Regions from separate parts of the Homo sapiens genome. Here region 2 is linked to region 1. The links are contacts of gene promoters, found by promoter capture Hi-C in human tissues and cell types (Jung and others, 2019). All regions are on one chromosome and are shown on one strand. Each heading gives the region's core, a stretch centred on a gene start or on the middle of the fragment in contact. The rest is flanking DNA. Distances are from core to core; before and after follow the strand shown.

The links. The method cuts DNA at HindIII sites, captures the fragments that hold promoters and counts their contacts. A contact is called where the count stands out against the background at its distance.
Region 2: a contact is called between the fragment with the promoter of KLHL35 here and the fragment with the promoter of MOGAT2 in region 1, in 1 of the 25 tissues and cell types used here (liver).

The regions. Positions count from the first base shown.
Region 1 is chr11:75,716,191-75,719,290 of GRCh38, forward strand. It overlaps MOGAT2 (monoacylglycerol O-acyltransferase 2), which reads left to right and starts at 1,648. Exons shown (of 6, transcript NM_025098.4): 1 at 1,648-1,789. The coding sequence starts at 1,699. LOC105369392 (a long non-coding RNA gene) reads right to left here and starts at 2,095. Exons shown (of 3, transcript XR_950316.4): 1 at 2,016-2,095. The HindIII fragment of the contact is 18,092 bases long and covers 1-3,100 here.
Region 2 is chr11:75,431,733-75,434,832 of GRCh38, forward strand. It overlaps KLHL35 (kelch like family member 35), which reads right to left and starts at 1,471. Exons shown (of 7, transcript NM_001039548.3): 1 at 1,311-1,471. It overlaps GDPD5 (glycerophosphodiester phosphodiesterase domain containing 5), which reads right to left. Exons shown (of 17, transcript NM_030792.8): 17 at 2,908-3,100. RefSeq lists an enhancer at 109-995. The HindIII fragment of the contact is 12,939 bases long and covers 1-3,100 here.

The DNA.
Region 1 (3,100 bases), core at 398-2,897:
TACCCAACAGAAATGTGTATAGATGTGTACTGAAAGACATGTACAGGAATGTTCGTAGCAGCAATATTCATAATAGCCAGAAACAGGTGACAGCCCAAATGCCTGTCAGCGTCCAAATGGACACTTTGTGGCATATTCACACAATGGAATGCTATACAGCAATGAAAACAAAGGCAATACAGGCACATATGATGTCTCAAAAGAGTATACACTAAATGATTCAGTTTTCATAAAGTTCAAGAACAGAGATGAGGATGGTGCTGAGCTACAGGGAGGAGAGCAGTGACTGGCAAGGCCAGAAGGGGTGCTAGGTAAGTTCTGTTTGTCGATCAGAGTGGTGATAACTTTCACTTTGTGAAAAGACATTTCTCTGTCCGCTTAGGATTTGTGCATTTTTCCGTATGTATGGTATACGTCAATTTGAAGTTGACATTTAAAAGGAGGGACTTAGAAGAACTGATAGGACATGGTGACTGGTAGAGGTGGATGGAGAAGAACAGAAGGGATCTAGTGTGACTCAGGTTTTGGCCTGAGCAACTGGGTAAATGGCATTACCCTTTACTGAGATGGGAAAGAGCAGAGGAGGAGTCAGTGGGGCAGAAGGGAGGTGGGGGAGGGAATCAAGTTCACCTTTAGACATGCTACGATGGAGGTGCCTATCAGGCATTCAAGTGAAGATGTCAAGGAGCCACCTAGAGATTCAAGTTTAGAGCCCCAGGGAGCAGAGCTGCAGATGCAGATTTGGAAGTCTTTGCTGTGTAAATACAATGCAAGGTGTGAGCCTGGATGAGATCTCAGAGAGCAGAAACTGGAGAGAAAAGAGAAGTCCCGAGGATGGAGTGGAGGAGGGGGACTCGAACAGCTGGCCTGGTGAAAGACGAGAGGCACAAAGGGAGCAGCCAGAGAGCTAGGAAGAAAACTGGGAGAGCATAGTGTCCAAAGGCCAAGTGGTTTCAAAGAAACGGGAATGATCAACCATATCTAATGCTGCCAATAGGTCAGGATGAGATCTGAGAATTGATTACTGGATTTAACATCATGGAGGTCACTAGGGAACTTGCCAAGGGCAGTTTTGTGGAAGGGTGATACCTGAAGTGTGGACCACCATTTGTGGTACCACAGATGGGAGGTGAGGACAGGAAGGCATGAAAGATAGCTCTTCCGAGAGTTTGCTGTGTGAGTGAGCAGAAAAATGGGGCAGGAGGTGGAGGACACAGTGTGGGTGGGGATTTTTAGGTGGGAGTTAGTACAGCATATGTGTGGAGGGGGAACAATGGACAGGACAAGGTTATCCTATCCATTGACCTTGGGGCCAGGTCATTGAATAGGTGGGAAGGGGGTGAGATTGCATATGCTTGGGGCTTCACCTGCCTAGTTATAGGAAGGACAAGATTTAAGCAATTGGGGAAAGGCAGCCATGCAGATAAGGCATTGCCTGAGAAAGTTGATAAAGGCTATACAACCCCTTCTCTTCCTCCTTCCTTAGCCAGGCTCCAGCAGGTAGATTCAAAGGTTTCTTGTAGGATAGAATTTCCTGCCTCAGCAGGGGCAAGGAGGCCTTGGGGCTGGGCTGGGCTGGGCTGGGTGTGGCACTCTCCCTGCCAGCTTCTACAACCTGGGGAGGGAACAAAAACCTGTGGGTGCCTCAGACCACAGCAGAGCTCACAGAACCTGCGGGAGCCAGGCTGACCCGCCAGCATGGTAGAGTTCGCGCCCTTGTTTATGCCGTGGGAGCGCAGGCTGCAGACACTTGCTGTCCTACAGTTTGTCTTCTCCTTCTTGGCACTGGGTAAGTTGGGCTGCACTGTAAGACGGGAGACCACCGCACTCAGGTGGGGCAGAGCAGCCACACCAGGTGCACACAGCACATTGATGGTGGCAAGACATTTATCCTAAAGGGGGCTTTGTTGCGCTCAGAGCCCCTGCCCAGAGAGAACTCCTGGGCCTGCCCAGAGGCTTCTTGGGGGTGGAGTGGGGTAGAAGTCACCGTCTGCTGCTCTGGGCAGGTTACTTACTCTTCCTGGCTTGCACTGTGGGTTCTCCTTTGGCACTTGGATGAAGACCAGTCTGCAGGCTGCCAAGTGGTGTGGGAAAGCCTCTGGGCGATGACGGGAAAGTTCTGGGCTCTGCAGCCTGCTCAGAGAGGAGAGATTTCCTTCTGTGCGCTCAGGGAGGAGGAAACTGGGGCTGGTAGTAGGGTAAGTGAGAGAAACAGGGAAAGAAAAGAAGGGTGGGGAGAAGGTGCAGACTGAGAGTGGACTGTGGAGTGGGCATGCTGGGTACCAGGAAACCCGGAGTCAGACTCAGCTGGGCAACTGACTTTAGCCAGCCCATGCCTGACCTCTCCAAGCCTCGACTTCACCATCTGCAGAACGGGGACAACAATGCTGGCCTTGCAGGGCTATTGTGAAGGAAATGAAGAAATGTGCTGACCTCTGCTTGGCACAGACCTGGCCTGGACCCTGGGCTGGGCTCACACTGGAGGGCATGAGCATGGCCCCTTACCCACCCCACCACTGATTTGTGGCCAGAGAGATCACCCTTGCCCAAACAATAGCTCTGCCAAAGGTAACATTTTCTAGGAGGGTCTGGATCTGTGGCTTGGGAAGGGAGAATGACTAGGAGTCCGTGGGGTTTTTCCTTTCATCTGCTGGCACCAGACAAGGTAGGAACTGCTGCTTCCAGGGCTGAGGTTCAGCCTGTACACAGATACCACTCTCCTGGTTGTTAAAATATTGACACACTCTGAACACATTGCTCAGTAGCCATCTCTCTTTCTCTCTCTCTCTCTCACACACACACACACACACACGTACTTCCTCAGAAACTCCCCCACAATTCTGTAGTGAAAAAACTCCCCCTTGGCAAAGCAGGCCCTCCAGGACCCTGCCCTAGCATCCCTTCTGGTTGAGCTGTGTCTCTGTTCTAAGGGTTTTTAGACATTTTACACATTCCTGTATACCCCCTTTGCACAGATGAGCCAAACAATCAAGGATTTGCCTCCAGTAAGGGCTGAGAAACCATCAGTCAGAGGGGAATTCCACACTAGGCCTGGTCTTAGCCCTGATGCACCCCTGATTATGGGGCGGCCAGGGGCTGG
Region 2 (3,100 bases), core at 221-2,720, 280 kb before region 1:
GAAATGGGATCATCATCCCTACCTCACAGGGCTGTGGCTTCATGACTATTACATGGGCTGTATGAAAAGTGCTAGTACACAGTACGAGCTACATGGGTGTTTCCCTATATTGCTTTTACTCAAGAGGAAGGGAGGACACTGTGTGTGCCAGTTGCTTTTATAGACATAATTTAATTTCATCCTCACAAGCTGAGAAGTTTCTTTAGCCCACACCTGCCCCTTTAGTTTGTCATAAGGGAAACAAGCACACACAGGACACCCGCCCTTCAGAAGTTTGCGGCGAGGCTCAGCAGAGGGGTGTTTGTGAAGGCGCTCTGCAGACTGAGGGGCTGGGCCATGCTGGTTATGATTTGGCCATTATGAACACAAAACCTCTGCTTGCACACCTCCAGGGACAGGGAGCTCCCTCCTTTCCATCAGCTTACTCTAGGGGGCTCAGGTCCACCCTCTGCGCCCTGCCTCTCCTTCCATCCTCCTGCTCCCAGCTGCTCTGCTGCCTCTGGAGGTCAGATCCCGCCTAGTGTCAGCCTGGCTTTCATGCCCTGGTCATCCAGGGCAGCGGATCCCCTGGTCAGCATCATGAGAGATGAGCTCCCTGGTGGGCAAGAAAGTTAACTACTTTTGCCCAAGTAGAGCGACTGGATCCTGAATCCACCTGGCTCCAGGGTTTGCATGCCACACTTGCCAGGGTGGGGGTGTGTCCCAAGGAGCAGCCAGGACCGGTGGAAGGAAGTGAGACCGGTCATCACAGCACGCTGCAACCAGTCTGTCCTCCACTGGCTCAGAAAGCACAACCATGCTCTGAGTTGAGACTCAAGAGGGCAGGTCTCATCAGCATAAGGATGGACTTCTTGCAAAGGTGCCCCACAGCACAAGCAGCTCCCTGGGGGAGAAAGAGTCCCCTCCTAGGAAGTGTGTCAGTACTTTTTCATTTTACTGTCTACTGCGCTGGGCACTCTGGACACACAGTGACATCAGATCCAGCATTCACTCTGGGGATCCCCAGTCTGGGGGTCAAACGACACCCAGTTGGAACACAGAAGGTAAAAATTCCCAGGTAGGGCTCAATGGGTATCCTCCCTTCTCGGCTGAGTCTAGGCACTTCAAGCCAGGGGTCATGATGCAGATTGAAGGGCCCAGCCTATAGAAGCTGACTCGAACATGCCACCATCACTCTTTTACACACCCACATCCACTTGAAGCCATTACCCAAGCACCTCCTCCGCATCCTCCCCATCTCAGACTTGCGGACACCACGCAGCCGGGTCAGCCCTGCAGCCTAAGCCTTGCCCCATGCACCTGGCACTTACCTGGCCATACCCTCTCCCAAGTGCTCCGCAGCTGCTGCTCTCACAGGTATCACTCCCGTTTGTGCCTGCCGCCCGCACCCCTGGCAGCCCAAGCTCCAGTGTTCATGCTGCTCTGCCCAGACTCCCGTTTGCTGTTCGCTCGGGCTCAGCTGCGGGAGGACAAAGGGGCTGGACGCCAGGAGGGAGGGGAAGGGAGGGGAAGGGAGAAGCGAGCAGGGAGGGGGATGCTGGGCTTTTGTTCCACTCTTGGACTAGCCCTGGGAGGGAGGGAAAGAAAGGGGGGGCATAAGAGTGGGATTGACTGTGTGTGGAACTCCAGGATTTGGTATGCCTGGGTTTGGGGGTGACCTGGTGCTGGCCTTGTCCCGGAATGACGATGGGTTCGAAGGTGTGTGGTGCTGGAGTTGGGGTGTGGGAGGGGTGTCATCATGCAGTTGTAGGCATGTAGGTTTCAGGGTGACTATGCGTGATTGTGGAAGTACATGGAATGAAGTGACTGTGTAGCATTGGGCTGCGTGTGGACATGTGGCTGTGTGACCATGTAGATGCCAATGTGACTAAGCATGTGGGGCGGGGGGCACAGTGGCTCTGAGTCTCATTCCCTTGAGCTCAGGGAGAGGCGGGAGCTGACCTCTGCCCCAGGAAGCAGAGCACTTGCCAGACATTCAGTAGCAGGGGCAGGAGGGCCGGTCCTCGAGGTTACTGTGGGGGCCCAGTGGAGCTTCCAACATTTGCAGAGGGCTCTTTTCTTTTTTACCTATAAGGTGCCAGAATCTCCTAGACCCCAAGAATTCTATCCAGAAGATCCCTGTTTGGAAGAGACACGTCCCTTGGCTCCCAGGAAGCATGGAGTTAATTTGATGCAGGCTGGAGCTGGGGCTCAGCTTCCCCCTTTTCCCTCAGGTCACACCCATGACCAGGCAGACTCTCAGGACAAAGAGGGGAGTTACAGGCCTGCTCTGACACCACCACTGACTCCTGCCCACAGACAGCAGAGGTCCCAAGGACTGGAAGGAAAGGACACCTGTGGTCCCAGGGCTGTACTTTGGCTTTCAGCTCAGGTGCCCCCAGTCCTGGGCATGGGCATGGGCCCTCCTCAGGCAGGTCCAAAGCTCGGAGAAGTCAAAGCCAAACTCCTGGCATGGGGAAGAGGCCTCCCTGTGCTGAGGGCTTGTCCCAACATAGCCGGGAGGTTCAGAATGCCTTCATGTGGCTGTGAGGGCACCTGCCAGTCCCACTCCCAGCCCTACATTGGACCCAGGAGCCCTCCCCCTCTGCGTGTCATTCCTAGCTTATGGGAGGCACACATATGCGCTGGGGCCAGAGTCTGGATGGGATTCTGGCTTGGCCTGTTCTAAGCTGTGTGGCTTTTGGAGGTCACTTTACCTCTCCAAGACTGTCTCCCCATCCACCATATGAGGATACCGGCTCCCAGCCACTGGCACCATGGCGGACCCAGGGAAGGGGAGGCACCATTCTGCCACTTTCCCATTCATTCCTGAGAATGGTTCCTCCTCAGATTATAGGGTCAGAACTGAAACCTAGACCCAGCGCACTTGTCCCCACCCTCCTGCTGGCAATTCAGAGACAACACACATCAAGATGGCAGCTTTAATCACATTGGCCAAGGGCCCTAGGTTCCCTCTGTTCAGGCCCACTTAGCCACACACCCACCCTGGCCATATCCAGAACACTTCTACCAGGTGGGCCCTGCCCTGTGGCCACTGATGTGGGAACCTGAGGTCACATCAGTCTGTGGACTCCTGGGTTAGGTGACCCTTCTGCCTTGA